Regions from separate parts of the Homo sapiens genome. Here region 2 is linked to region 1. Evidence: promoter capture Hi-C in human tissues and cell types (Jung and others, 2019). All regions are on one chromosome and are shown on one strand. The core of a region is centred on a gene start or on the middle of the fragment in contact, and the rest is flanking DNA. Distances in the headings are between cores, read along the strand shown.

Region 1 (5,470 bases), core at 1,051-3,550:
AGATGACTCTCCCACCTCAGCCTCCCAAATAGCTGGGACTACAGGCACACCACCATGCCCGGCTAACTTAAAAAAATTTTTTTGTAGAGACAGGGTCTCTCTGTGTTTCGCAGGCTGTTCTCAAACTCCTGGTTTCAAGCAATCCTTCCCCCTCAGTCTCCCAAAGTGCTGGGATTACAGGTGTGAGCCACCAAGCCTGTCTGATAAAAGCTATTTCAGAGTAACAGGGCAAAGAGAGAAGCAATAAACAGTGCTCAAGAGCTAGCTCCAGACAGATGGCCAGCGTAATAAATGTAAATGAACTAAATTTGCCAATTAAAAGTGAATGGTCTTTTTTCTAAATAGAATTCCCAGCACCATTTTGGGAGATTCCAATTGAATAAATTTAGGGAGTAGGGCTCCTGACTGTATTGTCTTGAACAAGCACCCCCATCATCTCATCCCAGGGGAGTGTGGGGCAGCTCCCTCATTTATGAAAATCCTAACTCAGTGAATTTAAGGAGGGGCTTCTGAATCTATGTTTTCAACACAAACTTCCACCCCGCCTCCCCTACCTTACTGATTCCATTTGGTAAGCATAGAGAACTGAGTTGCAAAGGAAAAAAAAATGGCATAAATGTTGGAGGCAGAATAATGGTGAGGAGGACCTGGATATGCTTCCCACCTACACACCCAACATAGAGTCTTGTGGCTGGTCAGGCACAGTGGCTCACCTGTAATCCCAGTACTTTGGGAGGCCAAAGCAGGAGGACTGCTTGAGGCAAGAGTTTGAGACCAGCTTAGGCAACATAGTGGGACCTAGTCTCTAGCAAAAAAATAAATTAACAAAAATGTGTCAGGGGTGGTGGTGCACACCGGTAGTTCCACTTCCTTGGGAGGCGGTGACAGCCTCACCCTTGACAGCCTCAGCCTTGGAAAAAGAAAGTACTGTTAATCTTGAAGACTATGGAATCATTTTGTCCCTGACCAGTGGAAGAGGACCTAAGCAACCCCCTTTGAGGGAAAGTGGGTCACCTGGGCTGGAGGTAGGGATGTGATATTGTTTTGTAAGCTAGCATTTCCTACAAAATATGAATTTATACTTTGACCAGATCTTGCATTGTGAGGGGATGTGAGGGGATGAGGTAAGACATGAAGGGGCTTGAGAGAATCAGCGACTGGAGGTCAAGAGAGTTAGACAAAAACAAAGGCTCACTGCAGCCTCAACTCTCAGCCTTGATCTTTCTAGAGGTCAAAAGAGTTAAAAACAAAACAAACAAACAACAAAGGGAGAGCCAAAGATACAAAAAAAGCATTACGTGAGAGGGTAATGAGCAAAATAGCATCATTCAAAAACAAAAGGATGAGTCACAGAAAAGATGGGGAGGGGTCCAGGGCACAGTGATTAATCAAAAGGAGTAATTTCAACAGCAGTCTGATGAAAGAAACAAAGATAAAAATAGCAATTGGAATTAGCCGGGCGTGGTGGCACGCGCCTGTAGTCCCAGCTACTCGGGAGGCTGAGGCAGGAGAATCGCTTGAACCCAGGAGACGGAGGTTGCACTGAGCCGAGATCGCACCACTGCACTCCAGCCTGGGCGACAGAGTGAGTCCCTATCTCAAAATAATAATAATAATAGTAATAAAAGCAAAAAAAAAGGGCCCATCTAGCATTCCCCGTCCCAGACTTAGAGTACAAGTCCAGCATCCGGAACAGACATTTCAAACACCAAGCTTTGAGAAACTGAAATCGCAACTTGATTGCTCTGGGTAGGTCCTAAGACCCTTCCTGACAAAAAGAAAAGGGGCTCCCTGTGCTCAAGCCTAACTGGGTTTATTTTTTATTTTTATTTATTTATTTTTTGAGACGGAGTGTCACTCTGTCGCCCAGGCTGGAGTTGCAGTGGCGCGATCTCAGCTCACTGCAACCTCCACCTCCCGGGTTCAAGCAACTCTCCTGCTTCAGCCTCCCGAATAGCTGGGACTACAGACGTGAACTACCACACCCAGCTAATTTTTGTATTTTTAGTAGAGACGGGGTTTCACCAGGTTGGCCAGGCTGGTCTCGAACTCCTGACCTCAGGTGACCCACTCGTCTTGGCCTCCCAAACTGCTGGGATTCCAGGCGGGAGCCACCGCGCCCGGTCAATCGTAACTGGGTTTAATCAGCTCCTTAGCCCAGGCCTTCCCGTGTGACGACCTGGGAAAACCTGTTTCCACGCGCAGGTCCCGGAGGTCCCGAGAGCCAGGAGATGACGCGGATGAAGGAGGGGCGGGCGCCCGGCCCAGATCCCGCAGCTGAGAGGGCGGAAGCCTTGGCACTAGCGGCGCCCGGGCGCGGAGTGCGCAGGGCAAGGTCCTGCGCTCTGGGCCAGCGCTCGGCCATGCGATCCGCCGCGCGGAGGGGACGCGCCGCGCCCGCCGCCAGGTGCCTGGGACCCCGGGACGCGGCCCATACTAAGGCCTAGGGTGGGGGCCTGGGGAGGGGGTCGCGAGCACGGCGAGGGGCGCCCCGGGCGAGCCTGGGCCCCTGTAAAGGGCGTGGTTGTGTCCGGCGCCTTGTAGTCTCCAAAATGTAGCTGGAGGCGCGTTCTGTGCCCGGGAAAGACGCCAGACAGCAGAGCCCAGGGATGGGGGGCGACTGAGGGGACGAAGGGCGGGTGGAGGAGACCGAACTGAAGGGAAGGCGGAAGGGCAGGGAAAGAGAACAAAGGAGGAAGGGAAGGGAGGGCGGAGGAAGGCTGGCCGGGACCCGGAGGGAGCGGAAACTGGGCCGGTCACGCCCTGCTGGGTCCTCCGCCTTCCACGCCCAGCTACACCGCTGCCCGGATTCGGCCTTCAAAGGCTCCCTAAGACCCGCCCCGAACCGCGCCCCCCGCTCTGCCCCACTAAGACGCGCCCCGTCCCGCCCCAAGGCTCCATCCCCCGAAGCGTAGCCTTGCCCGCCCCACTTCCTAAGAGGCACCCCGTCCCGCCCCCAACCCCCCAGCTCGATGCCTTCCAGCACGGCCGTGTTCCCCGGGTCCACTAAGACGCTCCCTGTCCCTCCCCAACGCCCCGTCCTCCCGAGCACAGCTGTGACGCCCTCCCGATTTCTAAGAAGGCCCCTTCCCGCCCCCCGCCTCTTCGGCCCCACCATGACATGCTCCATCCCGCCCCCCGGCCCTTTGCCTTCCCAGCACGGCTGTGCCCTCCCCCTCATCCCACTAAGACGCGCCCCGTCCTTCCCCCAGACCCCATCCTCCCAAGCACGGCTGTGACTCCCCCAACACGCTCGGTAAGACACGCCCCTTTCCCCCCCGTGGGCTTCATTGGGCGCCCTCCCCCCAGCACCGCCGTGCCTACCCCGGTCACCCCCCAAGACTTCTCTGTCCCGTCCCCATCTCCACCACAAGCGCGGCCGTTACTTCCCTCTGGCCATCCCCCGGCGCCTTGGCCTTGTGCCGCCTCCATGTCCCCACCCTCTAGCACCGCCATGCCCCGCTGCACTTCCTCAGATGCGCCGGGTCCTGCATTCCCAGCTTCATTTGCGCCCCAGTGCCACCGGTAGAGGGTCGTGACTGCAAGTTGTCCAGGTTCTTGGCGTTTTGAACAAAGAATTGGACAAAACGCCCAGCAAAGAAAGAATGAAGCAACAAAAGAAGGAAAGCAGGGATTTATTGAAAACAAAAGGACACGTCACAGTGTGGGAGCCGACCAAGCAGCGGCTCAAGGGCCCGGGTACATAATCTTCTTGGGTCCAAATACCCCCTAGAAGTTTCCCATTGGCCACTTCATGCTCACCTCATGTAACTGAAGTGGTGGCCCGCGATCAGTCTGATTGGTTGCAGGCAGCAGCCAACCAAAGGGTGAAGTTACAAAGGTCACACTCCTGTGCAAACATCTGATTGGTTGCAAAACCCAACTAATCAGAGACTAGGGTGAAGTCACAAAGTTGCACACGAAGACTAGACCCGAAATCAGTCCGATTGGTTGCAGACAGCCAGTCTACTATCTACCCAATAGAAAAGGTCAAAGGGAAGCCTTCGGTCCTTTTGTTACTTAGGCATGGAAAGTTAGGATTTTCCCGCCAGGCGAGGTGGCTCATGCCTGTAATCCCAGCACTTTGGGAGGCCGAGACGGGTGGATCACCTGAGGTCAGGAGTTTGAGACCAGCATGGCCAATATGGTGAAATCCCGTCTCTACTAAAAATACAAAAATTAGGCCGGGCCTCTACTAAAATTACAAAAAAATTAGCCGGGCGTGGTGGCAGGCACCTGTGATCCCAGCTACTCAGGAGGCTGAGACAGGAGAATCGCTTGAACCCTGGAGGTGGAGGTTGCAGTGAGCCCGGATCATGCCATTGAACTGCAGCCTGGGCGACAAGAGTGAAACTCCATCTCAAAAAATAATAATAAAAATTAAAATTAAAAAAAAAAGGAAAGTTAGGATTTTCCTTTCAATTTACTTCTAGGAAGTCGGCATGGAAAGCCTTAGGTTCCCTGCCTCCAGACCCTATTCTCCTGCCTCAGCAGCACTGCCGTGCCTCTCGCCACCCTCCAAGACACGCCCCGTCCTGTCCCCTTCCGCGGCCATTGCCCTGCTGGCCACACCGGATCCCTCCCCATGGCCTTATTCCTCCCCTGCCCCCCAGTAGAGCCGTGTCCCCTCACACACCCTGAGACACACCCCTCGTTCGCGTCCTCCCCGGAGAGCACAGCCACGATCCCCCAACACTAAGACACCACCTATCCACTGCAGTTCAAGGACTGCTTGAATCAATCCTCCCACCTCAGAATCAGGCAGAGGTTGCTGTAAGCCACCATCATGCCACTACAGCCTGGGCAGCACAGCAAGACCCCATCTCAAAAAAAAGAAAAAAAAGAATAATAAAGCAGATTGGTTGTTTCAAAGTTACTTTTCTTACAGGGTTAAAGCACGGGAGACTTTGTTAGCTCAGATGAACTACACATCTTCTTCTTGCTTACTCAAATCTTCTGTTTTTTGGAAAACTGACCTGTTTCCCTGTTCAGCTTGACGATGTGGCAGTTAACACAAGTGACTCCATTCCAGTTTGTTCTGACCTGTATGGTCTAGTGTGGCAGGCCAGGTCTCACTAATGCAGGCCTCCGTAACAACTGTTTCAGCACTGACTGAGTGTGAAGTTACATACTAAAAGCTGAAACAACCAGCGCCTTTATGCACAGGCTGGGATGTAACAAAAGCACACCAAGAGTTCTGCCCAGGCCTCTCCTGGGCCTTTGAAGCATGACAAGATAACGAAGGAATTCTTAACAGGACCCATTTAGGATTAAACAAGTTTTATTGTGGGTCTGAAGAAACTCCCCAGACCTCCACAAACAAGCTTTGTTGGGGACTAAAGGAACTCCCCAGAACTCTGTGATTTAGCAGGAGACAAGATAAGGGTAATCACCCCAGCACCTGGACCCATCTAGATTAAGTCAATTCACCGAGGCTCCAGAGGAAGGTCTTCAGGACTCAGATCTTAAT
Region 2 (5,470 bases), core at 2,194-4,693, 74 kb after region 1:
CTTTTACAGGATTCTAAATGTTCCCCTTGCCAACTTTTTTGTTGTTCATCATCACCATCCTCCAGGAGCCTTTTTAAACTTTTTTTTCGTGGATCACCTCCTCATGAAATATGAACACAAAAGTCACATGACATATCTATGTTCTGTACATTACATCTGTGATTATACAGTAAAAAATAACAAGATTTCACTCCCAAGAATCAATTTCTCTTCCTTAGGGACACCGTGTCCTCTGTAGAGAATGCAGACTCTAGAATTATTCATTCCCAAGGTGATTCTCAGATTCTCTATTTTCATTTATAGCCATATCTTCTGGAGCAGTGAATTTCACAGCCTCTGGTCCCCTCACCCTTGACCCTTTTAGGAACCCAAAGAGCTTTGTCCGTGTGGATTCTTTCTTTTTTTTTTCTCCTGAGCTGAGGCTTGCTCTGTTACCCAGGCTGGAGTGCAGTGGCACGATCTCGGCTCACTGCAAACTCCACTTCCCAGGTTCAAGTGAGCCTCCCTCCGCAGCCTCCCGAGTAGCTGAGACTAGCGGTGTGCGACACCACATTCGGCTAATGTTTTGTTTTATTTTTTCGTAGAGACAGGGTTTCATCATGTTGCGCAGGCTGGTCTCAAACTCCTGAGCTCAAGTGATCCGCCCACCTCGGCCCCCAAAGGGCTGGAATGACAGGCGTGAGCCACTGTGCTCGGCCATGTCCCTGTGGATTCTCTCTCTCCATATTTAGAATAATCGATATTAAAACTGAGAAATTAGAAAGCATATTTATCAATCCCTTTAAAAAAAATCAAACCATTATGCAGTAACATAAATTTCATAATTTTTCATTAAAAAAATTTCTATATTAAAAAAAATCATTGTGAGAAGAGTGCCATCCATTTTCCCAAGAGGCGACAGCTGGTTCTTCCTAGCTCCATCTGTGTTCAGGGTATTACCTTATCACATGCCATGTAGTGTCTGTAAACTCTCAGCATAGATGCATGAGAAAATGGCAGCAAAAAGGGAAAAAAATCACATCTTCAAATTCTTTTTTTAAAGTAGTTATGACTTTGAAGACACTTGAAAGAGTTGTGGGGTCAGGGTTCCTTGGGCCACACTTTGGGGATCATTGTCGTAGAGCCTTGGCTAGCTATCATTTACAGCAACAAGCAAGCAGGAAACGAGATGTGTGTGTGTGTTTCTGTGTGTGTATATACATATATAAAGACGTATATAGATAGATACATCTATGTATTAATATATAGATAGATGTCTAGATCTACATAGATGGATAGATGCCTATATAGAGATCTAGATCTAGATACATAGATCTATATAGAGAGAGATCTAGATCTAGATACATAGAGAGATATATAGATCCATGTATATACATAGATATCTAGATAGATCTAGATAGATATACAGATATAGATATATAGATCTATGTATATAGATAGATATCTGGATCTAGATAGATAGATATAGATATCTATATGGATGAAGATCTAAATCTAGATGGATATCTAGATACATAGATATCTAGTTCTAGATAGATAGATATAGGTATCTATATAGTGATGTAGATCTAGATAGATAGATAGATAAGATGTTTATAGATAGATATCCAGATCTATCTGAATAGATACATATGATAGATGATAGATTAGACAGATAGACAGATATCTAGGTCTAGATAGATAGATATCTAGGTCTAGATAGATAGACATCTAGGTCTAGATAGATAGATAAATATCTACATAGATATAGAGATTAGATAGATCAATGTATATAGATATCTAGATCTAGATATAGATACATATATAGATATAGATATATAGATCTATGTATACAGATAGATATCCAGATCTAAATAGATAGATATGGATAGATAGATAGATAGATAGATAGATAGATAGATAGATAGATAGATAAACAGATGTCTAGGCCTATATAGGTAGATAACTATATAGACAGATATATATCTATATAGATAGACATAGAGATCTAGATACACAGACACATAGACATAGGTATCTATCTATACAGATAAATAGATATTTAGATCTACCTAGATAGAGGTGATAGATAGATAGATGATAGATAGATGATAGATAGATAGATAGATAGATAGATAGATAGATACATAGATAGATAGATGATAGATAGATAGATAGAGTTTTTAAATATGCCGACAGCTGGTATGTCTTCCAGGAGGGAAGGTGGATCGGTAGTGGCAGATCTGGCAGGATTCGCCAGGGTGGAGAACTTACTGCTTGAAGGCAGGGCTGTAAGTGTACATCGTGTTACTACTCAAGTTATAGATGAACGGCAGGTGCTTGTGGATGTCTGTGGTCGACCAGTTCCTGAAGAAACTATTCAGTAAGCCTTGGTCTGCCCCTACATAATGAGCAAACACAAAAGCAGGTTAGCAAAGTATGGCTTGGTTCACTCCAAGAATGCGAGATGTGCCTGAAGCTCTCAACATAAACACTTGCCTTCAGGGTTACTAATTCCATTTCTTCTGTCTGCCAGCTGCACACATTCTCTTGGTTCTCAGAAAAGACTGATAACCCAAGCCATTGATAAAAATAAGTGCATATTCCCTCCAAAATTCTCCACCAGGAGTCCCCAGAATGAATGCTAAAATTGCATATGGAGTCCAAAGCATTCCACTGGTCCCCTAATGAATTCTCCCTGGTAGTGACAATGCTTTTCCCATCATTTTTGCCAGTTTCATTAACTTCCCCTTTACCTAGAGGCAATTCTTCACTGCTCCAGTATTTTCTTTTACTTTACAAAAATTCCAGCACATTTCCTCTCTACTGACGCCCATTTCAACAAATACTCGGCTTCAGGTTGCCTCCTTTTAATTCTCCCTATATTCTACCATGGGTCAAGCAACTACACACTGTGCATGTTTTTATAAATAAAGTTTTATTGGAACACAGCCATGCTCTTTTCTTTTTCTCTGAGACAGGGTCTCACTCTGTCAACCTGACTGGAGTGCAGTGGTGCAATCATAGCTCACTGTAGGCTTGAGCTCCTGAGCTCAGCTGCTGCTCCCAACTCAGCCTCCCAGGGCTTGGGGACTACAGGTGCCAGCATCACATCCAGCTTATTTTTGTATTTTTTGTAGAGATGGGGTCTTGCCACGTTGCCTAGGCTGGTCTTGAACTCCTGGTCTCAAGCCATCTGCCCACCCCGGTCTTGAACTCCTCGCCTCAAGCAATCTGTCCGCCCTGGCCTCCCAAAGTGCTGGGATTACAGGCATGAGCCACCACGGCCAGCCCATGTTCAATGCCAAGTACAGTCATGCAACACATAAAAGTGCTTCGGTCAAAGACAGACCATACATCTGACGGTGGTCCCATAAGATTTTATACTGTATTTTCACTGGACCTTTGTGATGTTTAGGTATGTTTAGAACACAGATACCTCCCATTATGTTACAGTTGCCTACAACATTCAGTGCACTCCCATGCTATATGGGTTTGTAGCCTAGAAGGAATAGGCTGTACCCTCCAGCCTAGGTATACAGTAGGCTACATCATCCAGGTGTGTGCAGATACACTCTGGGACGTTCATACAATGACAAAATCACTTAACAACACATTTCTCAGACCGCATCCCTGTCGCTGAGCGAGGTGTGACTGTATGGTCAACGGCTGACTTCGTGTTACATCTGCAGAGTTGAGTGTGTGCAACAGAGACCCTAAGCGTCCGGGCTGCCCTGACTTACCGTCAAAGCTGCCGTGTTCCATGGCGTGCTGTAGCAGGAGTTTATGCGTGTGGAGAGAAGGCTGGAAGACAAACACCCCGCTATTGAAGCAATCCGGCCATCCGGGGTCCGGGGCCGCAGAAAACTCTCCCCTGTCAAACAGCTCATCGACATTGGACAGCACCTGGTGAAGCAAAACACGCAGAACCCGCCGCAATGCTTCTTTTACCAATGCTTCTGTTTTTGAGACAGAGTCTTGCTCTGTCGCCCAGGCTGGAGTGCAGTGCTTCAGTCTCGGCTCACTGCGGCCTCCGCCTCCCGGGTTCAAGCGATCCCCCCACCTCAGCCTCTTGAGTAGCTGGGATTACAGGCACCTGTTACCATGCCTGGCTAATTTTTGTATTTTTAGTAAAAACGGTTTCACCGTGTTGGCCAGGCTGGTCTCAAACTCCTGGCCTCAAGTGATCCACCCATCTCAAGCTCCCAAAGTGCTGAGATTACAGGCATGAGCCACTGTGCCCAGTCACAAGTTTTTTCCCTCATGATTCTATTTTGTGCGTGTAAAATACTGTGGTTATAATTCATTCCTGGGGTAGGAACATGTCTTCCAATCCCCTGTTCTCTTCAGCAGGGTCTAGCACAGTGCTCGGGGGTATGTTATGCCTGATTATAATAGACTGAACATCTGTGTTAGAAATAGAAATGCACATGGCCTCACAGGAATCTACCAGTAAGAGGTGACAGCCCGGCCAGCATGGCGAAACCCAGTCTGTACAGAAATACAAAAATTAACCGGGCATGAAGGCGGGTGCCTGTAATAGCAGCCACTCGGGAGGCTGAGGTGGGAGAATCACTTGAACTCAGGAGGCGGAGGTTGCAGTGAGCCGAGATCGTGCCATTGCACTCCAGCTTGGGTGACAGAGCGACTGTGTCACACACACACAAAAAAAAGTTGACAGCCTGCTTAAGGATAGAGATGTGGTCTTGGAGGGTTTCCTATCAAGCAGAGAGTCTTCACTCACCAGAGTGTCTGCATCCAGGAAGACACACTTGCTGTAGTGAGTGAGAGTCCAACAGTGAAGCTTGGTGAGGGTGAGCCCGAGCTCAGGTCTCTTCAGAAAGGCCAGGTGGATGTAGTCGGCACTATCGATTAGATTCACTTCAATGACTTCATCGAACACCTTCGAGAGGATGACCCTGGAACAGACATGTGCCAAATAGTGGGACAGCGGGTGAATATTCAGCACAGAACCACCTCCTCCTTCAAGAGGGTGCTGTTTTGCTGCTCACAAACGTGGAATGCAAAGAGAATCCCCACAGCCCTCACTGCGGTCTCCATGTTCAGAGCACATTTCCACGGATGGCTTAGAGCTGTGCACACCGTCCACTTGTGCCCAAAAGCCTCTGCATGCTTGAATGCAAATGCCAATGGTGTGAAACCCCACTGTACCGGTAGAATTAATATATTACTTTAGTAATGTACCTGAGCTAAATGACGGAAGCTTTAGAGGTGCATAGAAACCACCACAATTTGTATGACATTTTGAAGTGAATTAAGCATCTTTGAACATGCTTCTTTGATAGCCATTGTTATATTTTTCAATCAACACAAAGCACAATGATTACTCTAAGTTCAATATTTTCATATTCATATATTTAAAGTCATGCAAGGCCTGGCGCGGTGGCTTATGCCTGCAATCCCAGCACTTTGGGAGGCCGAGGCAGCCGGATCACTTGAGGTCAGGAGTTCAAGATCAGCCTGGCCAGCA

What was found. The method cuts DNA at HindIII sites, captures the fragments that hold promoters and counts their contacts. A contact is called where the count stands out against the background at its distance.
Region 2: a fragment that was not itself captured here is called in contact with the fragment with the promoter of ARSD in region 1 in 4 of the 25 tissues and cell types used here (aorta, pancreas, small bowel and 1 more).

Annotation. Positions count from the first base shown.
Region 1 is chrX:2,926,169-2,931,638 of GRCh38, reverse strand. It overlaps ARSD (arylsulfatase D), which reads left to right and starts at 2,300. Exons shown (of 10, transcript NM_001669.4): 1 at 2,300-2,407. The coding sequence starts at 2,364. RefSeq lists silencers at 2,283-2,632, 2,653-2,812. The HindIII fragment of the contact is 14,341 bases long and covers 1-5,470 here.
Region 2 is chrX:2,853,408-2,858,877 of GRCh38, reverse strand. GYG2 (glycogenin 2) reads right to left here. Exons shown (of 11, transcript NM_001079855.2): 4 at 4,724-4,898; 5 at 3,723-3,885; 6 at 2,254-2,380. Among named protein-coding and RNA genes, the nearest start is that of GYG2, 27 kb to the right of the region's middle. The HindIII fragment of the contact is 8,433 bases long and covers 1-5,470 here.